Linked DNA regions of Homo sapiens: regions 1, 2, 3 and 5 are each linked to region 4. The links are contacts of gene promoters, found by promoter capture Hi-C in blood cells and fetal thymus (Javierre and others, 2016). All regions are on one chromosome and are shown on one strand. Each heading gives the region's core, a stretch centred on a gene start or on the middle of the fragment in contact. The rest is flanking DNA. Distances are from core to core; before and after follow the strand shown. Region 1 holds the start of KRTAP9-3 (keratin associated protein 9-3). Region 2 has its middle 8.5 kb from the start of KRTAP9-1. Region 3 has its middle 12 kb from the start of KRTAP9-7. Region 4 holds the start of KRTAP2-4 (keratin associated protein 2-4). Region 5 overlaps KRTAP9-4 (keratin associated protein 9-4).

Evidence for each region. The method cuts DNA at HindIII sites, captures the fragments that hold promoters and counts their contacts. A CHiCAGO score of 5 or more calls a contact.
Region 1: a contact is called between a fragment that was not itself captured here and the fragment with the promoter of KRTAP2-4 in region 4, in 1 of 17 cell types (naive B cells). The highest score is 5.2, in naive B cells.
Region 2: a fragment that was not itself captured here is called in contact with the fragment with the promoter of KRTAP2-4 in region 4 in 1 of 17 cell types (activated CD4 T cells); the score reaches 5.0 in activated CD4 T cells.
Region 3: a contact is called between a fragment that was not itself captured here and the fragment with the promoter of KRTAP2-4 in region 4, in 1 of 17 cell types (total B cells). The highest score is 5.9, in total B cells.
Region 5: a fragment that was not itself captured here is called in contact with the fragment with the promoter of KRTAP2-4 in region 4 in 2 of 17 cell types (total CD8 T cells and naive B cells); the score reaches 5.2 in total CD8 T cells.

The regions. Positions count from the first base shown.
Region 1 is chr17:41,229,475-41,234,798 of GRCh38, reverse strand. KRTAP9-3 (keratin associated protein 9-3) reads right to left here and starts at 2,350. Exons shown (of 1, transcript NM_031962.3): 1 at 1,345-2,350. The coding sequence starts at 2,297. The coding sequence ends at 1,818. The HindIII fragment of the contact is 5,484 bases long and covers 1-4,959 here.
Region 2 is chr17:41,195,820-41,200,929 of GRCh38, reverse strand. No RefSeq gene overlaps it. Among named protein-coding and RNA genes, the nearest start is that of KRTAP9-1, 8.5 kb to the right of the region's middle. The HindIII fragment of the contact is 1,378 bases long and covers 2,883-4,260 here.
Region 3 is chr17:41,285,517-41,290,464 of GRCh38, reverse strand. No RefSeq gene overlaps it. Among named protein-coding and RNA genes, the nearest start is that of KRTAP9-7, 12 kb to the right of the region's middle. The HindIII fragment of the contact is 390 bases long and covers 2,095-2,484 here.
Region 4 is chr17:41,063,278-41,068,347 of GRCh38, reverse strand. It overlaps KRTAP2-4 (keratin associated protein 2-4), which reads left to right and starts at 2,469. Exons shown (of 1, transcript NM_033184.4): 1 at 2,469-3,232. The coding sequence starts at 2,503. The coding sequence ends at 2,889. RefSeq lists enhancers at 2,199-2,735, 2,736-3,273. The HindIII fragment of the contact is 6,863 bases long and covers 1-3,464 here.
Region 5 is chr17:41,250,377-41,255,537 of GRCh38, reverse strand. It overlaps KRTAP9-4 (keratin associated protein 9-4), which reads right to left. Exons shown (of 1, transcript NM_033191.3): 1 at 4,885-5,161. KRTAP9-9 (keratin associated protein 9-9) reads right to left here and starts at 154. Exons shown (of 1, transcript NM_030975.2): 1 at 1-154. The coding sequence starts at 152. The HindIII fragment of the contact is 1,395 bases long and covers 2,998-4,392 here.

The DNA.
Region 1 (5,324 bases), core at 968-3,467, 170 kb before region 4:
TTTAAGATCTACCTTCTCAGTAAATTTCAGGTATATGATAAAGTGTTTTTAACTATAGTCATATTACTGTACATTAGACCTACTGAACTTATTCATCTTTCATAACTGATGCTAGTCAAAGAGAATGTCCTAGTTTTCATCTCCTTTACTTCATCCCTGAACGATGATGACAGTAAGTGGCTGTTGTCTCTTAGCCAAGTCTTCAGAGCATTCTAGATTCACAGTCTCGGAAGTTGGCATCTGTCATGGAAATCTACATTTTTAGCTCATCAGAGGTATTTCTACCACTCCCCTGCTGGTAGGAGGCCCCAAGAAGGTGCCCCAGGTCCCCGACTTTTCAATTTCTCTCAGAGCCAGCATCAATCAATCCTTTCATGAGTGAATGGTTATCTTACATCAGTTCAGGACCCGAAGCACCAACCTCTGTCTATTATGTCTTCTATGAATGCACAAGTTCTACCTTGCTCCTTTCTTACATTCTTCTGATTTCCGTGGAAAAAGAAGTTTTTCATTTCTTTAGATTCTTCATATTGGCCTCACAAAATGTGGAAGGTTGTTTTTATTCCCTTCCTTAGCTCAGAGATTATGGGTTGTGCCAAGTCTTACATGCCCATTGCATAGTTTCTCAATTCCCAGCTTTGTTCTTACATAATTTTACTCATAACACTTCAAGTAGGGGACAAATTGTCTTAACGTGGCATAACGTATGGTCTGTATTTTACAATGAATAACTTAGTTTCATTTACTTTGTCAATTGGTATTCAGGAGACCGATGCTGTATAAGAATTTTATTTACATCACACTGAGAATAAGTTTCTTCAGATGAGGCTCCGTCTCCTGAGTCCACAATAAATTCTCAAGCATTTTTTGATGCAGATGAATTGAATGAATGGCTGGTCAGAGGCTCAGACAAAAAGATCTCTGCATTCAGGGCAGCCATTAAATGCATATCATGCAGCCTTTGCTCACTGAGGTGTGGGGAACTACTTTGGGATTTTTTTGTGTGTGAACAAAAGTGTTATCTGCAAATATGTCAGATTATTCCTCTCATTGTTAAATAAACTCAAGTACATGTCTTGCTAGTGCTGACTTCCAGTGTCTTTTCTACTATATTGGGAGTTAAACGTAAGTGTCCTTGGGCAGAAAGAGAGGACCTCACCTTTGACCAGAGTCTGCCCTTTACTAGCTACATAACATCACACATTAAATTGTTCTCAGCTGAAAAAATGGAGTTAATAATACACGACCATCTGTTTTGAGAATCAAATTGGATAATACCTATGGTATGTGATATGTGTGTAAATCCCATATCAGGAATGCTTTCAAATAAAACAAAACACTATATGAGATGAAGATGGTTCAGAGTTTATTCAGAAACATATAGGTAAGAATCTCTGCTACCAGAGACATAACCCAAAGTTATCGTGAAAAGAAGAAAGAAGGATACAAGAACCATGAGAAGGATATTTAAAATGAAAATATAATTGCAAAGATGATTGATCAGTTGCAGAAACCTAAATTCCTTAGAAGCAAAGAATGAAGCTCTTGATTTTTGAGACAAAGCTGAGATCATGACTCCAAATTAAGAACAGACGAAGCTGGCACATGATCCACAAGGTGTAAGGAAAGAGGGAATGAGGATGAAGTATTCTGCCCTCCCTCAAGCAGATTCCCAAGATTTTAAACATGTAGAGAATTCATAAAAATTTGGGTGAGAGCATGGTGGCTGTCAGCAGCAAAGTAAATTAGTCCCTCAAAAGACAAGTCAGTTGAGCTGAAGGTTGTTGTGTGAGGATGGTAGTTCTCTTGGGAGTTGATTAGCAGCAAGAAGGCTGGCAGCAGCTGTACACACAGGTGGGCTGGAAACAAGTGGTCCTGCAGCAGGTGGTCTCACAGCAGGCTGGGCGGCAGCAGGGCTGGCAGCAGTTGGAGCCACAGCTCTGGTTTAGGCAACCAGGCAGACAAACACTTGTGGGGTGGTAGCAGGTTCTTCTGCAGTACACAGGTGCACAGGAGCTGCTCTGACCACAGCTGGACCCACAGCATGTGGGCTGGCAGCAGGGTGTGCTACAGCAGGAAGGCTGGCAGCAGCTGGTCACACAGATGGGCTGGCAGCAGGTGGTCCTACAGCAGGTGTTTTGACAGCAAGTTGGGTGGCAGCAAGGCTGGCAGCAGCTGGAAACACAGCAGGAGGGCTGACAGCAGGGTGTGCTGCTGCAGGTGGTCACAGTGGTGGGCTGCCAGCAGGTGGTCCTGCAGCAGGTAGGCTGACAGCAAGGGGAGCAACAGTGGGTCATGGTGTCAGGGATGGAGGGTGGGCTTCTGTTAAGAGGTGAGTTTCCCAAAATCTGATGACCCCTTGCAATCTGGACCTTTTATACACCTGGCCTCCAAAGTTTCCACCAATCAGCAGGACTTTTCCTTGTTGCTGTTTACATTGTTTTCCACAGTCCATTTGGGATTGTCAAAGGGGAAGTTGTTACTGAAATCTTATGAACCTTTTAAACTAAGGGTTTAATCTGTTTCTTAATTGTGAGTTACTCATAGAAAGTTTGTTTCAGATAAAAGGAAGCCCGTCTCATCATCAGCATCATTCCTGCTCTGACCATCATCTGGTCATGTGACAGTTCCTGTTGATCCGGGGGGCTCAGGAAGTTCTCTCTGGCCAGCCTCATGTTTGGCTGTATATAGACTTGGAAGTGTCTGTGGGGAGAAGCATGATGCTGATATATTTACAGTGACAAAATGAATCCATGCCTGGGCCCAAGACTATTCACCCACCAAATTCTGACTCAAGACTAACAGGCATCTCTTTGTGCCACCCACATCATCTGTGTCTTTCAGTTCTTTGAATGTCACTTGGGAAGACGGTGACTGCACAGTGTGTTCCATGCGACAGAGCAGATCGAGAACAGGTGGATGCAGAGAAATCTGCTGAGATTTAGACAGCATCAAGCAATGTATGCCCTAGGACGACCATTCATTCTGACTTGTCTGGGAGTGTGGGGATTTCCGGGATGAGAATGGAGGACTTTCTATCACGTAACTTCTTGAGATTCAGGCCAACCAGCATGTGCTCTGGCTCTAGCCCTAAACCTAGTTACTAGCAGTAACTAGAAGTAAGCGTTGAAATTCAGGCCAACCAGCATGTGCTGTGGCTCTAGCCCTAAACCTAGTTACTAGCAGTAACTAGAAGAAGAAGTAAGTAGAAGTAATTTCTTCTATTTCTTTTCAATGAAGGGATTAGATGAGTTGAGATGACACCTGATTCATCGTGGAGTTCTAACATGTTGAAAACATTGTCTAGGTATATCATTCACTTGAGAAGAATGCAAATTATTAATTTCCAACCTGATATAGTATTACATTGTAAATACATCTATGTCCCCATTACCAGGTTAGGAAATAGAAATTAATGCCATTCTCTCCCAATTATATCCGCTTACTCATTTCCAAACAGCTAATCACTCTATCAAGTTATAATCCAGTAGATGACTTTGGCTTTTTAAAATTTCCATGTGAATAAAAATTATAGTATTTGCTTCTCTGTTTCTTTGTTATAATCAAAAGGAATCGTTATCGCCTAGTCATTTTGGACTCTTCCCGTCAGCAGAGCAGCAGACAGAGAAAGGAGTTACTATTTGGTGAGGGGTAATTATCTTTAAGCCATATAGTGTAGCAGAATATATCTATAGCTCAGGATACTTAGTAAGTGTATTAACTTACCAGCACTGCCATAATAAATTACTGTAAACCAAGTGGCTTAAATTTATCTTTTCACAGTTCAGAAATTAAGGTTTTGGCAATGTTGTTTTCATCTGAAGCCTGTGAGGGAAGTACATGTTCCAGGTCTCTCTCCTTGACTTGTTGATGTCTATCATTTCCATGTGTGTTTGATATAATTTTTCTGTTATATGCATGCTGTCTCTGAATTTCCCCCTTTTATATAGACATCAGTCATATTTAATCAGAGGCCTAATTGTTTCCAATATGACCTTGCCTTATCACATAACACTTTAAATGATTCTATTTGAATATGAGTTTTGGGGGACACAAATTAACCCATAACACTGGAGAATCTCATAGTGTGTCCATGTCCAGTGATAACTACAAATCGGTAAGAACAGCAATCACAGTGGACAGTGGTATAGTAACTAGAGGCTCAGACAATTTAGGAAGGAAGTTATCAAGGCAGTTATCAGGCAGTTATCCAGACCAAGAAGAGTGCTGGCCAGCGGTGAAGGGAGAATAGAACTGGTGGTAATAAACGGAGACTGTGAATCTCAGGTGCACTGTACTATAGCAGCAGTAAGTGTAGCTTATTTCATTGGCCTTCATTTTACATCTCACTTCCTCTCCTTTCTTTTCATTTCCTTCTTCTCTCTCCTTCCTCTTCCTTCCTTTCTTCCTTCCTTTCTTCTTCTTTCTTTCTTTCTCTTTCTTTCTTTCTCTTTCTTTCTTTCTTCTTTCTTTCTTTCTCTCTTTCTTTCTTTCTCTCTCTCTCCCTTCCTTCCTTCTTTTTCTCTTTCTCTCTCTCTCTTTCTTTCTTTTGTCCTCCACTCATCTTCTGTCCCTTCTCTTACTCCTCTTTCTCACCTCCTCTTCTTCCTTCTTCTAGAGCTTGTGCCTGTCCATCACATTTAAGTAGCAAAGGTTTTACTTGAGTGGAGCTAATTGTAGATCATAGATAAGTTTTCATGACTGCACCCATATATATTAGATCTTAGTGTGCTTGGACTAATTTCCATCTGTTAGAATCTGCATCTCTGTGCCTAAGAGCTCTTGTATTGCTGCTGTAAGAAGTCATGTCACCTGTGAATGCAACACAGAGAAAAACTCTCAACCAATGATTCTGGAGAGCTGATTTATAAAGACTCTAGCTTCCTCATTCCTGAAGTAGGATAACTCTAGCTGTGTGTTTTTTTGTCATTTCTGATAGTTTTCCCTTTAGTTTAAGCTTTAGTTGGTGACTGTGATACTGACTTGATAGTGTACCCTTTTCTGTATCACTTCCCCAATCCCTACCAGTGTGATCTGCACTTCCGAATAAACTAGTTTCACTGGAATGCTTTCCTCAGAGTCTCTTCTGGGAGAAACTAATCTATGACAATACACTAACTCTCTCAGCCTCAATTTTTTCATCTCTACAAAGGGAACATTAATACCTGTTTTGAAAGTTTGTTAAAGAATTAATAATAGCCGGGTGCAGTGGCTCACGCCTGTAATCCAAGCATTTTGGGAGGCCGAGGCGGGCGGATCACAAGGTCAGGAGATCGAGACCATCCTGGCTAAAATGTTGAAACCCCGTCTCTACTAAAAATACA
Region 2 (5,110 bases), core at 2,322-4,821, 130 kb before region 4:
GTAACTAACCTGCACAATGTGCACATGTACCCTAAAACTTAAAGTATAATAAAAAAAAGAAAGAAAACAAAACAAAACAAACAAAAAAGAATCAAAAAAATAAATTACAAACTTAAATATAAAATATAAAACTATAAAACTTTTAGAAAAAAATGGAAGAAAATCTTTAGCATGTAAGACCAAAGAGTTCTTAGGTAGCACCAAAAACATGATCCATTAAAGAGAAATTAATAAATTGATTAAAAAAATTATGTTCTGCAAAAGAACAGAGGAGAAAAAGACAAGCTGTGAACTATACATGATATATATTTGCAAATCACATATTTGACAAAGGAGTAGTACCTAGAATGTATAAAGAACTTTAAAAACTGAACAATTAGAAAGCAAACACTAAAAGTACAGCATGGGCAAAAGACATGAAGAAATATTTCATGGAAAAAGATATACAGATGACAAATAAGCATGTGAAAAGATGTTCAACATCATTAGCCATTAGGGAAATGCAAACTAAAACCACGAAAAGTTAGCACACCTATCAAAATGGCTAAAATAAATGCTGGTGAGTGTTCAAAGAAACAGAATCAGTCATACATGTAAAATGGTACAGACACTCTGCAAACAGTTGATGCTGTTGCTTAAAAATTAAACATGCTGGCCGGGCACAGTGGCTCATGCCTGTAATCCCAGCACTTTGGGAGGCTGAGGCGGATGGATTGCCTGAGGTCAGGAGTTTGAGACCAGCTTGGCCAACATGGTAAATCCCTGTCTCTACTAAAAATACAAAAAGTTAGCGGGCGTGGTGGCGCATGTCTGTAATCCCAGCAACTCGGGAGGCTGAGGCAGGAGAATCGTTAGAACCCAGGAGGCGGAGGTTGCAGTGAGCCGAGACAGTGCCACTGCACTCCAGCCTCGGTGACAGAGCAAGACTCTGTAAAAAAAAAAAAAAAAAAAAAAAATTAAACATGTAACTACCATACAACTCAGTAATTGTACTTGTTCACACAAATGTTTGTACATGAATGTTTATGGCTGCTTTGAACTGGAAGCGACCCAGATGTCCTTCAACACATGATCAAACAAACTGTGGTACATACATACCAGAGGGTAATTCTTAGTGACAAAAAGGAAAAACTGTTCAACAATCTGTTTAAATTTTCACGGAATTATGCTGTGTTGAAAAAACCAGTCTCAAAATGTTAAGCACTGTATGATTCTTTTTATACAACATCCTTGAAATGACAGAATTATACAAATGAAGAACAGATTGGTGGTTGCCAGGTATAAAGAAAGGAGTGGGTGTGGGAGGCAGGTGAGAGTGGCTATAAAAGAACAATCAAAAGAGATCATTGCAGTGACAGAAATGTGTTGTACATTGGCTATGTCAATATCAATATCATATGCTGTTGGTGATGTTTTTCTATAGTTTTGGAGGATGTTATTTTTTGGGGAAACTGGGCAAAGAGTACATGGATCTCTTGTATCACATCTTACAATGGCATGCCAATCTCTATTCTTTAAAAATAAAAATTTTAATTAGAAATTTAATTTAACAAAGGAAGAAACAGGTTTTTGTGTGTGTGTTAGTGGTGTTTTTTTTTTTTTTTTGACGGAGTCTCACTGTTGCCCAGGCTGGAGTGCAGTGGTGCGATCTCAGCTCACTACAACCTCCATCTTCCTGGTTCAAGGAATTCCCATGTCTCAGCCTCCCAGGTAGTTGGGATTACAGGCACACGCCACTACGCGCAGCTAATTTTTTTCTATTTTTAGTAGAGATGGGATTTCATCATGTTGGCCAGGCTGGTCTCGAACTCCTGACCTCAGGCAGTCCACCTGCCTCAGCCTCCCAAAGTGCTGGGATTACAGGCGTGAGCCACCATGCCCCGATGAAACAGTTTTAAGAAGCATTTTATCTTTAAAAGGTAGAAGAACATGGGTTTTGGAGATCGGACAAACATCTGACCACTTCCACTGTTACCACGAGATCATGCATCAGACAGAGCTGAGCAGCTTTTTTTTTAAAAAAAAATTTACTTCCATAAGTTTTTGGGGAACAGGTGGTATTTGGTTACATGAGTATGTTCTTTAGTGGTGATTTGTGAGATTCTGGTGCACCCATCACCCGAGTAGTGTATGCTGAACCCAATTTGTAGTCTTTTATCCATCACCCCTTCCATCTTTTCCCCTGAGTCCCCAAAGTCCATTGTATCATTCTTATGCCTTTGCATCCTCATAGCTAGCTCCCACTTACAAGATTTCAGGTTCGGTTTTCCATTCCTGAATTACTTCTCTTAGAATAATAGTCTCCAATTCCATCCAGATTGCTGTGTCATTAATTCATTCCTTTCTATGGCTGAGTAGTATTCCATCATATATACAACCATTTCTTTTTCCACTCATTGATTGATGGGCATTTGGGCTGGTTTCATATTTTTTGCAATTGCAAATTGTGCTGTTATAAACATGCACGTGCAAGTATCTTTTTCGTATAATGACTTCTTTTCCTCTGGGTAGATATCCAGTTTTGGGATTGCTGGATCAAATGGTAGTTCTACTTTTAGTTCTTTAAGGAATCTCCACACTATTTTCCACAGTGGTTGTACCAGTTTACATTCCCAGCATGAGCAGCTTTTTAAATTAAAAAAAAAAAAACTAACTTCTTGGTGAATCTGGATTCATAATATCTGTACTCCATTCTGAGGGGACTTCAGATGTTGGCATGATTTTACTCCAGTATGTGTTTTAAAAAGAAAAGGAAGGACACTCCCTAAATCCAATCCCTAGAAGTTCTATCAACATCCTCTCAAGCCTTTATATCATTTATTTATACTTATATCAAGTACTCTCAAGCTTTTATATTAATTAGACAGGTACAGTAGAAAGCTTTTAGGTTGGGTAGATTCTGATATCGATTTTCAGAAGATTCCAATATTCTTATCTAAGCTGAAAGAAGGTATTGAAACATCATACAAATACCGTGGGAATCTCTCAGAACAACTTACATAATACAGTGTTATCAGTCTTCAAAATTTCTATAATTTCATATAATATCAGTATTATCAGTCTTCAAAATTTCTATAATTTCATGAAGTTCTTAATATCTTAGAAACAAATCTACACTTGTTAACCTCAGTGGGAATCATTATACATGTTCCTCTGATTCTTTTTCCATTTTTCCACATTTTACACATGAGCAAACTCTGAACATAACAAACCTCACAATTCTCCAGTGAGTCAATCTGATGTTGATAGGACTTCCAATATTGGCAGTTCTGGGGGCTCTCTCACACTTCTTAAACTATCAATGTTATAGCTGGGATTGGAATTAGGGAGTGTCATTCCTTTTCTTTTTAAAACACATACTGGAGTAAAATCATGCCAACATCTGCCATCTAGGGGGAATTCTGAATGGAGGTTCTCCAGTGGAAAAATAGGGAAGTTTTGTTACATACATTGTACACTGGACAGAGCTAAAGAAAATGAAAAACCATTTCGTGAAAGCATTACTTGGTCTTGTCCATAATAATATTATATTTTAATAGAGGACTGAAGTGTGGAATTGTCTTTTATGTTTAATGGCAGTCATAGGAAAAATTGCAGTAGGATGTGCATAAACCATCAGAACTCACTGAGGGATCCCAGGGGAAGGAGTGTGATGGGGGAATCACACAAACAGGTGTATGATGTCATGTTACTGTCTAATGATAACAAAGAGCCCATGCCAGTTTCTGAAGACAGACCTGCATGGCTGCAGCTTATATTTTTATTTGGAAGAAAGAGAAAGTGGACAAAATCCGGAGTTGCCTAAAATATAATTTGTATGCTATGGCCTGAAACTTCATAAATGATCCATAAATATGATGGCAAAAGTAAACAAAATTAAAAATGTTTTGTAGGTCTTTATGAGGCAAAGGCATAAATGAGGTTGTATCAGAAGTTGGGGAACATGGGAGGGGCTGCTTCAAGACCTGCAGAAATTACTGTAAGTTGATTGAAGATGGTTTTAAAAAGAACCTGGGACTTATAAATGGGGGTGGAGGTTTGGTGAGCCATGGCAGCTTAGAGAAAAGAGAGAGTCTGAGACAAATTCAGAAGTGCTGGTTACGACACATTGCATGGGGGAGGGAGAGCCACCCAAGGCACTTGAATTTTCCAGAGTGCCTGGCAAAATCTGTTTTAGAACAAATGCATTAGATGCCATTCCGTATTATTAGAACTTCTAGAATATTAGAATGTTCTAAATATTTGCTGAGAAAATAAGCTTTTAGGGCAATACAAGGGATCCTTGTGCTGATGGAGCTACTCTGTGTCTTGAAGGTATCAATGTCACCATTGGACTTGTGATACCGTACTGTAGTTTTGCAAGAAGTTATCATTGGGGGGAAACTTGGTAAAGAGTACAGAGGTTTCTTTGTATTATTTCTTGCAACTGCATGTGAATCTACAATTATCTCAAAAAGTTTAATTATAAAAAAGAAAATAACCTTTGGTTATAATTTCACTTTTCATGCAGGTATATCTATAGGAAGAAAATATCCTGGTCAAAAAGACCCATGAAAATGTCATCTTCTCTTTAAGTTATTTCTCATGTAGATTCTTCAACTGGTACTAATGTTATGGGCTTGGTGAAAGTGAGCCTGCTCCCAGAGGTGGTTTCACTCTTAGAATGTAAATAATTTCAGTTTCTGGAGTGTGCAAGGCTGAAGGCCAGATACTGGTACGTTTTTCAAGGTAGTATTTACTACCCTGGAAGACAGCCTTCCTGTTTCCTCCAAAGGATGCCTAATAAGTATGTATGGCACTTTGTGTTTCTTTTTAAATTTTACATATTTTACATATTTTGTTGCTTATGGACTTCAAAAATCAGCGAATGGTCAATTTTGAATCCAACAAAAACATTTGGGAACTTTTGAAGTATCTCAAGAACTGAAGTGACCTCTGAAGTCCAATAATAATAACCAATTACCAGACACTGCGAATCCTTGGCACAATGTTCTAATGATTGTCCAGCCAACGCTTGCATCCCAATAGTGTTTAGAATTCACATTGCCAGAATAATTTTTGCATTAGCTCCTTCCACTCTAGGCCTCTGGCAATTTTTCCTCATTGGGAT
Region 3 (4,948 bases), core at 1,040-3,539, 220 kb before region 4:
CGAGATCGCACCATTGCACTCCAGCCTGGGCAACAGGAGCGAAACTCTGTCTATTAAAAAAAAAAAAAAGACTAAAGAGAAATAAGAGGAGCGTTGATTTCTATATCGCAAGCACAGTACAAGATTATCAGTACAAAGCAATAGGCCTTTTCCTGTTTAATGGCATACTCACTTTGTTTACAACCATTTCATTAAAAAACACATTTTCACCATGTTTTCTGCTGTTTTGTTTTTGTTTTTGTTTTTGTTTTTTTCCAACCAAAAAGCATCTGGAGCTTCTTTCATTCTTCTCATGGACTCCTACCATCCCTGTTTAATGACTTGTTCACGAATCTTTCTTCCTAAGGCTAAACCTTTGAAGTTGTAGCTATGCAGTTATTTTTGATCTACAAAAATGGAAACTTCATATGGCTCAAACTCGTATTCTCTACTTGGCCTTTATTTTTTATTTTTTTAAGTAGAGATGGGGTTTCACCACGTTGGCCAGGCTGGTTTTGAACTCCTGACCTCAAGTGATCTGCCTGCCTTGCCCTCCCAAAGTGCTGGGATTACAGGCACAAGCCACCACGCCTGACCTACTTGGACTTTTTCAATCAAATCCCAGCCCATAGCTCCTTATAACTCCCTCTGGCATCTTTATAGTATACTGAAAAGTATTTTAAAAGGCCTTAGGATACTAATCACACACAGTAAAGTATTTTAAAAAGAATTAAGTCAACATAAGCCATCTTTTCTCCCAGTGTCTATTAGAATGAAATTTCCCCTGTCATTTTTCTGATTGTTTCCCTATCTATTTAATAACTAGGGTACACGTCAGACTTGTCCTGAGAAGTTCCATTCCTGAGGAAAAGCTATGCATGATTGTCTTATTTTGGAAATCTCAAATGTGGGATTCGTGTAATGGGCTTTGATAAAGGATGTTAAGGGGCAAAGTTAAGGCAGCCTTGTAAAGGTCAACTTGGAAACTAAATATCAGTAGGGAGTTATCTCAGTGGCTATAAGTTAAGACAACAGAATAAAAACTGATATTTGAGACATAAAAATGGCCCAAAAGATGGGTGTAATGAGCCCATGAGTCCCCAGTATAACATGAAACTTGCCCATCTGCGTGGTGTACGGCATTTGGTGTTACTCATGTTGGTCTCATCAGTTTGCCCACCTAAATAAATTCATCTTACAACAATAGTTCTATAACATCTAGAAGTAAGTTCCCTCCTGTAGCCCACTTCATCAGAAACTTCTTGGCAACACCTGAACCTAGCTGGAACTGGAAAAATATTTGATGGTAGTGATTTCCTGATAAATAGTCTAGAGCTGTTGCAAACAAAATCCAAGGATTGCTCTTTTTAGACACAGTCTTGCTCTGTCGCACAGTCTAGAGTGCAGTGGCTTGATGTTGGCTCACTGCAACCTCCGCCTCCTGGGTTCAAGCGATTCTCCTGCCTCAGCCTGCCGAGTAGCTGAGATTGCAGGTGCGTGTCACCACACCCCACTAATTTTTTGCATTTTTAATAGAGACGGGGTTTCACCACATTTGTCAGGCTGGTTTTGAACTCCTGACCTCAAGTGATCCACCCACCTTGGCCTCCCAAAGTGCTAGGATTACAGGTGTGAGCCACTGTGCCTGGTTAAAGGGTTGCTGTTTAAATGAACTATTTGCTTATGCTCTAAGTCAGCATGGATGGGATCCATAGATCTTTCCCGAAGTCTTAAAAATTAGTCTCTTGACTTAGTGGCATGGGAATAGATGTGAAAGAACTTTGTTTTTTTAAAAATATTAATTAATTAATTAATTTTTGAGACAAAGTCTTGCTCTTTCACCCAGGCTGGAGTGCAGTGGCGCGATCTCAGCTCACTGCAAACTCTGCCTCCCAGGTTCAAGTGATTTTCGTGCCTAAGCCTCCCGAGTAGCTGGGAATACAGGTGCACACTGCCAAGCCTGGTTAATTTTGTATTTTTAGTAGAGACGGGTTTTGCCATGTTGGCCAGGCTGGTCTCGAACTCCTGACCTCAAATGATCCTCCTGCCTTGGCCTTTCAAAGTGCTGGGATTACAGGTGTGAGCCACTGTGCCAGGCCAAAATGGGAAAAAGCTTTGTAAAATATAAAATATCCTTTAAATTTAAGAGCTTATGAAGGATATACTGCACACATAATCTAGGTCACGAAAGGATATGCAAGATGAGTATAGATTACTAGGTGATAAATTGGGAAATGCCTTAGTTGCAAAGAAGATAATTCAAATTATAAATACAATGAAGAAATGTGCAGGAAAGATATTTTAGAGGTGGCAAAATTAACCAGTTATTAAGACAATCAGCAGAGGTGGTGGACAGGGATGGTGAATCTCATGCATGTCCAATTTCTAGTGATACTCATTAGTTAAATCCAAACCCTCACTAGTGGCCATGAAGTCCAATGTTTCTTTAAAAAGGCAGTAAGGACCAATGAAGATTTTTTTCCTTGTCCATAGTTTAGTCAAGCTTCTGAACCTTCTCATAGGCCCATGGGTGCACTTCCTTGTAAAATCCAGTTTTGTAAAATTTTAGCAAAGAGCCCTGCTAAATAGGTTTAGCAAGAACTCCCCATCCTCGATATCTGATCACCCTTAATAGCGGATCAGATCTCTTATCTGCCACCATTCTCCAAGTGATGTTTGATCACCCTCGCCTGTCTTCAGCAAGAGCACTTTTAGGTCAGTTTAGCCAAAATTTCCCTACTGGTGATGCTTCCTCTTAGTAATTTTCCATCCACTGACCGCCACCCTGCTCCTTGGCTGTAAATTCTCACTTGCCCATGCTATGTTAGGAGATGAGTCCAATCTCTGTCTCCCAATGCAAGACCCTGTTATGGTGGTTCCTTTGTTTACTGCAGTGTTCCTGAATAAAGTCTCCCTTACCAGGCTTTCACAAGTGCCATTGAATAATTTTTTTTTTAACAAGACTATGATGAATTTTTAAAAGCCAAATCCCTATTGTTTCCCTGATAACATATTATTTCACCAGAAAAATAAATATAAGAAATTCATTTTAAATGTATCTCAAACCATCAGAAAAGGGCTTAACCTTATTGAACTGAGCTACTAGGAAAGAGGAGGAAAGAAGAAGAGTGGAAACCATCGGTCATTCAGTGCAAGCATGTCCGGCTGTCACCAATAAGCTAGCTGTACCTGTCTTAGGACAGAGCTGTATGAAGGAAGTTAATATTTACCAGTTAAAAGAAAAACGAAAGAGGAAAACAGTGATTCAGCACTAAACAGAATTAAGAGTCAGTCATTTGAAATATAGAAAGCCCTAGAAATACCATTACAAACAACAATAATAACAATAAGCCCCCTATTGTATAATAACAAATTGTGCAATAGGTAAAAGATAGATTGTTTAAAGTCTTCTTGGATGTTGTAAGTTATTTTCAGGGCCAAAAAGGAAAAAACTGCTCTTGCAATTCAAGTTCGGGTATATATTTTGCAAATGCTGGCATGCTCAATGCTTCCTGAAGGAGAGGGAGCTATCCTTATTTTGATCAGTTCAGATTGAATGAAAATTTTCTCTGATGCTAATATAGATCCAGTCTCCCAAATTTTAGGTTCCCCACGATTCTTCAAACATCACCAATAAGAGTTCAATGTTCTTGGCTGGGTGTGGTGGCTCACACCTGTAATCCCAGCACTTTGGGAGGCCAGTGTGGGCCTCCCAAAGATCATGAGGTCAAGAGATCGAGACCATCCTGGCCAACATGGTGAAACATGGGCATGGTGGCGGGCACCTGTAATCCCAGCTACTCAGGAGGCTGAAGCAGGAGAATTGCTTGAACCTTGGAGGTGGAGGTTGCAGTGAGCCGAGATCGCACCACTGCACTCCAGCCTGGTGACAGAGCGAGACTTATCTCAAAAAAAAAAAAAAAAAAAAAAAAAAAAAAGAGCTCAGTGTTCAATGTTCTCACTTGGAAGATGTCTCAGTATCTGAGAAGTAGTTTGTCCACGGTCAGGAAACTAGAACTCATTTAAAGAAACTAAATTCTCTCCTATGCTGTTTACATCCATTTGGGGCCACTATTCCCCTTTCCAGCTGTCCTTCTACACAATTCTGTTCAAATATTATTCTTTGAATATATAAGTAATATTAAGAAGTCCTCCTTTCTTATGTCTTAATCATAATTTTACCAGTAGATCTTAAATGAAATCCCTTATATTCTTATCATCACCTATTTGTGTAGGTACAGTTCTTTCATAGTGGACTTAATGTTGGTCTTAGTGAGTGGTTTGTTTTATATATTAAGTATACTTATGCTTTGCTATATTTATTACTATTGGGCACTTAAAGGGGAATGCTTGGAAAAAACTGGGTTGATTTTGCTAGGAATCAACCTTAAAGGGCAGAAGATTATTGAAATTTGACCCTTTCCATCTTAATCTTTGTTCCAAGCAGGAATCTGACTGGGGCTGAAGAGCTTGGTTTTTACCTTGTCCTTATCTTGCATAAGGAATGCTTTTGTTTAGAAAGAGGATCTGAAGGTTTTCTGGTCTGGGACAGGCCACAGCCACTGTGGAACGCAGTGATAATAAAGGATGGATAAGGCTTGCATGCTTTCCTTAGCGAGTTTATACAATCTATCCAATTTAGGCTTTCTTGATTTATATTCTAGAATAATGTCTATATTTGTTTATTTAAGTGGGAATCATTTTAATTTTATTTCTGATTTTTAATCCTATATTTTCTGCATTAGTTATCTCCAAACCTACAATTTAATTAAATTTATCCCAGCGTTTGATCTTAGAATATAACATTCATTCTTGTTTCCTGCATATTCACAAGAAAAATCCCAAGCTGTGTTATCTGAACCATCTGTCAGAAGAGGTTCCAAGGAGAAGGTGTCCAGTGATGAAAGAGCCGAGTTTTCCCTATTTTGAATGTAGGAAACACAGGCTGGTTTTTCTGAAATTAATCCCT
Region 4 (5,070 bases), core at 1,220-3,719:
AGACATGGAATATGACAGCAATGAAACCAATCTCTTCAGGTAACCAGTGATACTTGACTGCGACGACAGAGTGACTCTCCACCTGGGGGCCTACCACACCCCTTAGGATGGCTGTGGGCATGCGGCATCCACAGTTGGCCTTACTTACCCTATAACTGGACTGGTAGATGCACCTGGGGACATCCTCATTTGCTGGGATACATCGTGCCCAGTTTAGACACCATTCTTACTAACTGGGAAATTGTAAAAGCCAGGCACTGCTGGAAGCATGCATCCCAGTGGTTTTACCCGTTGGCCACTTTTGCCATGTCCCCCCCGCCACTCCCCCCACCACTCACCACCCAAGTGGTGACAATAGACATACAGCTGCAAGTTGAGGCCCTGGCTTAACATAGGGCTGCAGTCTTTAATGATATCTGCCATGATATTACTCTTCTCACTGAAGAAACTGCCCAAATTAGGTGTGTTACTTTGCAAAATTGCATGGCCCAGGACATCTTAACCGCTTATCAGGGCAGAACCTGTGCATTAATTAAAACTGAATTTTGTGTATATATCCCTGATTACTCTCACAATGTAACACAGGCCATGTGGGCCCTAGATACCCAGATTTCTGCTATAGAATCTCTATCTTATGACCCTGTAACCACATGGTTTAATCAACTCCTGAGTGCTTGGAAAAACTTTCTATACAGTACAATTGTTGTTACATTCATTATTCTTTTTTGTTGTAGTAGTTTATGTTGCTGCTGAAACATCTGGTTGCAATGCTCCTCTGCATATCCTAGCCCCAGGGAAATCTCAGAAGAATGGTGTGATTAGAATGTAAGGGCTATTCAAGGGTATGCTGAGGTGGAGGGTATGGCAGACACATCTGGCAGCAATAACTTAACTTAAGCATACCCTGAGAATGATCCTACAATCAAAGAAGAATGTATGCTTGGAGTTCTGAGCTAAGGATCTGGGAGTGGCCAACTTGGAGATCCACTCCTTATCTATGAAGGACATTTGAATCCCCACCTCATCCATTAGAACACAGGTCATACTGGGGATTGAGGCCCTTTGTTTTGGATTAAATGGAGGTTGTTAGGTGGAGGGTTCTAATGAAAATACTGTGTGAACTGCATGCTTTTTACAAATAATAGCAGTTCTCCTGTCCAGATACCACCACTGGACCACCCTTGTATGTAAGTTCCACTAATAAACCCTGCATCATGTTAGCTTTCTCCAGGTCCCTTCTCTAGCTCTCAGACACATTGTCATACTTAGTGGAGTCAATGGGGGTCCAGGATGACAATGTGTCATCTGGGCAAAACATTTCCCTAATTCTCTTCCAGTACCACTTCTAACCTTGCTGCTGAAAGGAAAGTTCATTACTTATTTTTTTAAATCTGTGTTTAATATGTATAAATGTAAGAGGTTCAAATGCAGCATTGTTACATGGATATATTGCATAGTGGCATGAAGTCTGGGCTTCTACTTTAATATATGTTTTCTTTCCTGTCTAAAGACCATGGTTTACTGAATCCAATGAGCATAAAACTCATAGTAGAGGCTACTTACTGCAGACTGAGGAGACCTGGATCTCAGACCTCATATGGTGACCTCATTGTGTGACCTTGGTACACTCTCAGGACCTCAGCTGTAGAGTGAGGGCATAGGCCTACATATTCTCCGCAATCCCTTCCCGGACTCTACAGATGCAACGACTAATTCCAAACAAATTACAAATATAATAATTGCAATGGATCCTTGAAGAGGGTTTTACAATCAAGGTAGAAGTTGAGTTTGGATTGGAAGGATGAGGAGGGCATTCCAGGTGAATGATGACACATCAAAACCAAGGCAGGAAAGCCCAGGTCCTAGTCAGGGGAGAGTGACCACACCAGTGGCCAGGGATCTGCATTTCGTGTGGTCCCTGCTCATATGAAAAACCACAAGCCTATCTTTAAGTGAGTCATGGAAGGAGCTATCTGTGAAGCAGATGACTACTGGTCTGCACTAGGATGATGCAATTAACCTGCTACCATCATGCCCATGTGCATTAATAAGGCAAGTCACTGCTTGGGTGCCGGTGATGGGAGCCTTTGAAGACAAGGAAGAACATGCTAATTTTAGCGCCAAAGGGCAGAGCGATTAGACACTAATTTAGAAAACACATTCTTTTCTCTCTTATGGGTTAGGAATATTTCAAAGGAAAATTAATCAGAAGTGAATCCAATGTCTAAATTTAGTGAGGATAAACAATACAAGAAAATGAGCGAATATTTGTGGTGTATGTACATGAATATGTATGAGGTGAAGAGTGACCAAAATACCATTAGTCAATGCTAAATCTTCACTTAATTGGCCAGAAGATGCACAAGAAAATGATCATATGTTGAAGGGTCATCAGCTCCCAGCCAGGGTATATAAAGGGCCCAGAGGGGGAGGAGGACATTCACACCTGAGAACATCCAGCTCCTCTCAATAGCCCAACCCACACCAGCCTCAGACACCACCATGACCGGCTCCTGCTGCGGCTCCACCTTGTCCTCCCTGAGCTACGGGGGAGGCTGCTGCCAGCCCTGCTGCTGCCGCGACCCCTGCTGCTGCCGCCCCGTGACCTGCCAGACCACCGTGTGCCGCCCCGTGACCTGCGTGCCCCGCTGCACGCGCCCCATCTGCGAGCCCTGCCGCCGCCCGGTGTGCTGCGACCCCTGCTCCCTGCAGGAAGGCTGCTGCCGCCCCATCACCTGCTGCCCCTCGTCGTGCACGGCTGTGGTGTGCAGGCCCTGCTGCTGGGCCACCACCTGCTGCCAGCCTGTGTCTGTGCAGTCCCCCTGCTGCCGGCCCCCCTGCGGCCAGCCGACCCCTTGCAGCACCACCTGCAGGACCTCCTCCTGCTGAGACCCCAATGCCCCCACAGAGCAATACACTGAAGCCTAAACATCTATCTGGTGTTTTTAAAAAGTTAAAAGAAAAATAGATTTTTTTTCACAAGGTGACAATAGTGATTTTTACCATCTGGATACAGCCTGGTGTAAGCAGACGTCCATTACCACCCTCACCCACATTTTCAGGTGTCTACATCAGCCTTAGTCATTATGGATAGTAAATCGACCTTTAAGAATTCCTGGGGTGGACTTTGCAAACACATTCTACAACCTGATGGTTTTTACTGCTCAAACTGTCACCATCATCTTTTGCAATGTGTTGCTCACTGTTGTCAATAAACTAATTTTTCCTGGCATAGCAGACTGCCCTGCTCCCTGATTTGTTCGTTAGTGCATGTTTATTAGCGTACACAGATAAGCAAGATTTTGGAACCTGCACAAGGGAAACAAAGCTCAACCTAAGCAAAACCTTATCCATAGAAATCTCATCTATTCAGTCATTCAGGAATTGTTTATCAAGGGACCTCCAGTTGACAGGTGCTGCCTGATTAGTGATGAACAAGCTACATGCCTTGTATCCAAGAAGCTTATGGTCTAATGGAATAGACAAAAGGAAAGACAATGTTCATGAAGAGGGGTAGAAGTGGGAATAGCATATGCCAAGCCCAGAATGACCACTGGTAGTAAACTGACCAGCACAGCGCATCTCATCTTCTTACCACAGTTCCTAGAGTAGCATTTTTCAAAGTGTGGCCCATGCGTCATACACAATAGAATCTCTTGCAATTGCCTATTAAAATGCACATTCTTAGGCCCCAAACCAAACCTAATGAATCAAAATCTCTGGGAGTGGGGCCCAAGGCTGTTTATTTTCTATCACTTCCATGTAATTCATTAGAATTTCAGGACCATTATTTCAGAGGAAGACCAGGATTTGAGCTCCTTGAGGGCTTAACAAGCATGGCCTGGAAGCCTTCCAAGAATAGTCACAAGGACAAGCCACAATGAAGACACCCAAAGTGAAGAAAAAAATGTAATATAATAATAAGTATGAAACAGCACCTGCTAAACTGTAATCAGAAGAATCGGTTTGGCAGAGAAGTGAATGTAAATGAATGTGCAAAAAAACAGTATCTTGAGTTTGTCATAGGTGGAATAAAATGACAACAAAAAAAGAGAGACAAAAAGTAAGAGATAAGGGATGAATAAAAAGTGAAGAGGGGAGGCAAGGCAATGAATAGGAGGAAGAGTGAAGAGGAAGATGATGGAGATGATGAGAAAGACAGAAGAGGAACAGAGACAGGCACTAGGATTCCTGGTACAAGTATTTGGTATTTGAAGATGTTACAGGAGAGCTAGGCCAGTCCTCAGATTACCCATGTGGCTAGGAAGTGTGTGCACATCAGGTGGTCTGCTGCCTGTCCTTTGCCCATCTCTATAGATCCATGTCTCACTGCTCCCCACTAAGATTCACTTCAAGCAACACTGACCTTATAGTTATTAAACATTTGCAGTTCCAAATGTTTCGCTTTTCCTCATGTTCTTTCACTTATCTGTTCTTTTACACACTCTTTCTCTTCACCTTCATCACCTACTTAACTCTGATTCATTTCCAAGATTCAATTCAGTCTTCTCCAGTAGTCCTGTCCCAACCCCTGTATCACACAAACACATGTGCAAATGCATACACACACACACACACACACACACACACATACAGGTTAGGAGCTCTCAGCAAGTTCCAATAGCTTACCTCCCTCCCCATAAGGCATTGTATTGAGATTATATGTTTTTTTGCCTCCAAGGAGGGGACCACAGTTTGTTTTTGGCTTCCAATACTGAGCTCAAAGTTTAATACGTAGCCGGTACTTAATTTCTGTTTGTTTAGTTGTCAAAATAAAAGGAAATTGTCTTTACCACAAGAATTTTAAAAGGTAGATAATTATTTAAAGAAAAAATTTTGGCATTAGTGTAACTTAACCTCTCTGACTCTCGAGTTTTCTCATCCGCAAAATGGGAAAAGCAACATTTACCAATGTAGATTGCTAGGGAAGTTAAATAACAATTATAACTTTTTATGTATGCAAGATGCCTGGCACATAGTTAAATGCCCAGTAACATTCATTTATATTCCTTGTGGAGCATTTGGACATCACTGTATCGAACAGGCTCAAAAGATGTGCTATCTACTACA
Region 5 (5,161 bases), core at 2,446-4,945, 190 kb before region 4:
CAAGCTGGGCGGCAGCAAGGCTGGCAGCAGCTAGACACACAGCAGGAGGGCTGGCAGCAGGGTGTGCTGCTGCAGGTGGTCACAGTGGTGGGCTTCCAGCAGGTGGTCCTGCAGCAGGTAGGCTGACAGCAAGGGGAGCAACAGTGGGTCATGGTGTCAGGGGTGGAGGGTGGGTTTCTGTTCAGAGGTGAGTTTCCCAGAATCTGATGACCCCTTGCAATCTGGACCTTTTATACACCTGGCTTCCAAAGTTTCCACCAATCAGCAGGACTTTTCCTTGTTTCTGTTTACACTGTTTTCCACAGTCCCTTTGGGATTGTCAAAGGGGAAATTGTTTCTGAAAACTTATGAATCTTTTGAAAGTAAGGGTTTAATCTGTTTCTTAATTGTGAATTACTCATAGAAACTTCCTTTCAGATAAAAGGAAGCCCATCTCATCATCAGCATCATTCCTGCTCTGACCATCATCTAGTCATGTGATAGTTCTTGGTGATCTGGGAAGCTCAGGAAATTCTCTCTGCCCAGCCTCACAGTTGGCTGTATGTAGACTGGGAAGTGTCTGTGGGGAGAAGCATGATGCTGATATATTTACGGTGACAAAATGAATCCATGCCTGGGCCCAAGACAATTCACCCACCAAATTCTGACTCAAGACTAACAGGCATCTCTGTGCAATCCTCACCACCTGTGTCTTTCAGTTATTTGAACGTCACTTGGGAAGAGGGTGTCTGTCACAGTGTGTTCCATGTGGCAGAGCCGATCGAGAGCAGGTGGATGCAGAGAAATCCACTGGGATTTAGACAGCATCAAGCAATCTACGCCCAGGGGTGAGCATTCATTCTCACTTGTCTGCGAGTGTGGGGATTACCGGGATGAGAATGTAGAACTTTCTATGACATAACTGCTTGAGATTCAGGCCAACGTGCATAAGCTGTGGCTCTAGCCATAACCCTGGTTACTAGCACAGTCAGTATCATTTCTTCTCTTTCTTTCTTAGACGGAGTCTTTCTCTGTCGCCTAGACTGGAGTGCAGTGGCGTGATCTCGGCTCACTGCAACGTCTGATTCCTCGATTCAGGGGATTCACCTGCCTCAGCCTCCCGAGTAGCTGCCACTACAGATGCCGGCCACCATGCCCGGCTAATTTTTGTATTTTTAGTAGAGAGAGGGTTTCACCATATTTGTCAGGCTGGTCTCGAACTCCTGACCTTGTGAGCTGCCTGCCTCGGCCTCCCAAAGTGCTGATATTACAGGCATGAGCCACCATCCACAGCCTCTCCTTCTATTTAATGAATTAATTAGATGAGTTGAGATGACACCTGATTCATCGTGGAGTTCTAACATGTTTAAAACATTTTCTAGGAATTACCATTCATTTCAGAGGAATGCAAATTATTAATTTCCAACTTGATACATTATTATATTGTAAATACATCTATGTCCCCATTACATCTATGTTAGAAAATAGAAATTAATCCCATTCTCTCCCAATTATATCCTCTTACTCATTCCCAAAGACAGCTAATCACTCTGTCAAGTTGTAATCCTATAGCTAACTTTTGGCTTTAAAAAATATTCATGTAAATAAAAATTACAGTATTTGCTTCTCTATTTCTTTAGCATAATCAAAAGTAATCGTTATTGCATAGTCACTTTGGACTCTTCATGTCAGGAGAGCAGCAGACAGAGAAAGGAGTTACTATTTGGTGAGGGGTAATTATCCTCAAGCCACATAGTGTAGGAGAATGTATCTATAGCTCAGGTGATTTACTGAGTATATTAACTTACTAGCAGTGCCATGGTAAATTACTGCAAACCAAGTGGCTTAAATTTATTTTTTCACAGTTCCAAAGGCCTCTAGTCTGGAATTAAGCTGTTGGCAATGTTGTTTTCATCTGAAGCCTGCGAGGGAAGTATCTGTTCCAGGTCTCTCTCCTTGACTTGTAGATGTCTATCATTTCCATGTGTGTTTGACATAAGTTTTCTACTATATGCATACTGTCTCTGAATTTCCCCCTTGTGTATAGATATCAGTCATATTTAATCAGAAGCCTAATTGTTTCCAATATGACCTTTTCTTATCACATAACATTTTAAATGATTCTATTTGAACATGAATTTTGGAGGACACAAATTAACCCATAACACTGCAGAATCTCATAGTGTGTCCATGCCCAGTGATAACCACAAAACAGTAAAAACAGTAATCACAGCGGACAGTGGTATAGTAACCAGGGGCTCAGACCCTTCAGGAAGGATGCTCTGAGCTACTCCCTCAGGCAGTTATCTAGACAAACAAGAGTGCTGGCCAGGGGTGAAGGGAGAATAGGACTGGTGGTAATTAATGGAGCTTATGAATCTCAGGTGCACTGTATTATAGCAGCAGTAAGTGTAGCTTATTTCATTGGCCTTCATTTTATATCTCACTTCCTCCCCCAGCTTTTCGTTTCCTTCTTCATTTTTCTTTCTTTCTTTTTCTTCAATCACCCCTTCTCCTTCCTTCCTTCATGTTTTTTTTTGGTTCCTTTATCCCTTCCCTTCCCTTTCCTTTTCCTTCCTTTCTTCCTCCCTTCTCTTTTTCTTTTTTGTTTCTTTTCTCTTTCCTCCTCTCATCTTCTGTTCCTTCTCTTCCTCTCCTCTGCTTCTTCCTTCTTTTAGAGCTTGTGGCTCTCCATCACATTTAAACAGCAAAGATTTGACTTGAGTGGAGCTAATTGTAGATCTCAGACAAGTTTTCGTAAGTGCGCCCATATATCTTGCATGTTAGTGTGCTTGGATTAATTTCCATCTGTCAGAGTCCGCATCTCTGTGGCCAAGGGCTCTTGTATTGCAGCTGTAGAAAGTCATGCCACCTGTGAATGCAACACAGAGAAAAACACTCAACCAATGATTCTGGAGAGCTGATTTATAAAGACTCTAGCTTCCTCATTCCTGAAGTAGGATAATTCTAGCTGTGTGTTTTTCATCATTTCTGATAGTTTTCCCTTTAGTTTAAGCTTTAGTTGGTGACTGTGATACTGACTTTATAGTGTACCCTTTTCTGTATCACTTCCCCAATTCCTACCGGTGTGATCTGCACTTCCCAGTAAACTAGTTTCACTGGAATCTTTTCTTCAAAGTCTTTTCGGGAGAAACTAATCTATGACATTATGTTAACTCCCTCAGCCTCAATTTTCTTATCTCTACGCTGGGAATATTAATACCTATTCTGAAAGTTTGTTAAAGAGTTAATAATAATGTACACAAAGTGTTTAGCAAATACCCATCCTATAGCAGGCAATCCAGAACATATTAGTGTTTCTTGTTCAGAAAATTACCAATTTTAATGTTGAAGATAGGAATATTTTTGTAATAATTAACTAGATCAACTAAATACTTTTTTTCCTAGCTGTATTGAGGTATAATTGACAAATAAAAGTTGTATCTATTTCAGGTATACAAGGTGATGTTCTGATATATATATTCCTTGTGAATAATATGTTTATTAGGTCACGAAGCTACCATTTCCTTTTAATTTTTGTGGTGTGAACATTTAAGATCTACCTTCTTGGTAAATTTCAGGTATATGATAAAGTGTTATTAACTATAGTCACATTACTGTACAGTAGACATGCTGAACTTATTCATCTTTCATAAATGATGCTAGTCAAAGAGAATGTCCTAGTTTTCATCTCCTTTACTTCAACCCTGAACGATGATCACAGTAAGTGGCCGTTGTCTCTTAGCCAAGTCTTCAGAGCATTCTAGATTCACAGTCTCAGAAGTTGGCATCTGTCATGGAAATCTACATTTTTAGCTGATCAGAGGTAATTCTAGCACTCCAGTGCTGGTAGGAGGTCCGAAGAAGGTGACCCAGGTCCCCAACTTTTATATTTCTCTCAGAGCCTGTATCAATCAATCTTTCCATGGGTGAATGCTTAGCTTACATCGGTTCAGGACCCAAAGCACTAACCTCTGTCTATTATGACTTCTATGAATGCACAAGTTCTACTTTGCTCCTTTCTTACATTCTTCTGATTTCCCTGGAAACACAAGTTTTTCATTTCTTTGAATGCTTCCTATTGGCCTCACAAAATGCAGAAGGCTGTTTCATTCCCTTACTTGGCTCAGAGATTATGGATTGTGCCAAGTCTTACATGCCCATTGTGTAGTTTCTCAATTCTCAGCTTTGTTCTTACATAATTTCCCTCATAACATTACAATTAGGGGACAAATTGTCTTAATGTGGCAAAATGTATGGTCTGCATTTTACAAGAAATAACTTAGTTTCATTTACTTCATCAATAGGTATTCAGGAGATGAAGGCTGTATAAGTATTTTATTTACATGATATTGACAACAAGTTTCTTCAGATGAGACTCTCTCTCATGAGTCCACAATAAATTCCCAAGCTTTTTTTGATGTAGATGAATTGAATGAGTGGCTGGTCAGAGGCTGAGACAAAAAGAGCTCCCTGCATTCAGGGCAGCCATTAAATGCAGTCCCTGCTGCCATATCACGCAGCTGTTTCTCACTGAGGTGTGGGAAATTGGGAATTTTTTGTAAACAAAAACGTTATCTGCAAATATAAGAGATTATTTGTCCTATTGTTAAAAAAACTCAAGTATATGACTTGCTAATACTTACTTCCAATGTCATTTCTACTATATTGAGAGTTAAATGTAAGTGTCCTTGGGCAGAAAGAGAGGACCTCAGCTTGGACAAGAGTCTGCCCTTTACTAGCTACATAACATCACACATTAAATTGTTCTCAGCTGAAAAAATGGAGGTAATAACACACGACCATCTGTTTTGAGAATCAAATTGGATAATACCTATGGTATGTGATATGTGTGTAAATCTCATATCAGGAATGCTTTCATATAAAACAAAACACCATATGAGATGAGGATGGTTCAGAGTTTATTCAGAAACATATAGCTAAGAATCTCTGCTGGTAGCAGAAACATAACCCAAAGTTATGAAAAGAAGAAAGAAGGATACAAGAACCATGAGGAGGATATTGAAAACAAAAATATGATTGCAAAGATTATTGATCAGTTGCAGAAACCTAAATTCCTTAGAAGCAGAGAATGAAGCTCTTGACTTTTGAGTCAAAGCTGAGACCATGACTCAAAATTGAGAACACACGAAGCTGGCACATGATCCACAAAGTGTAAGGA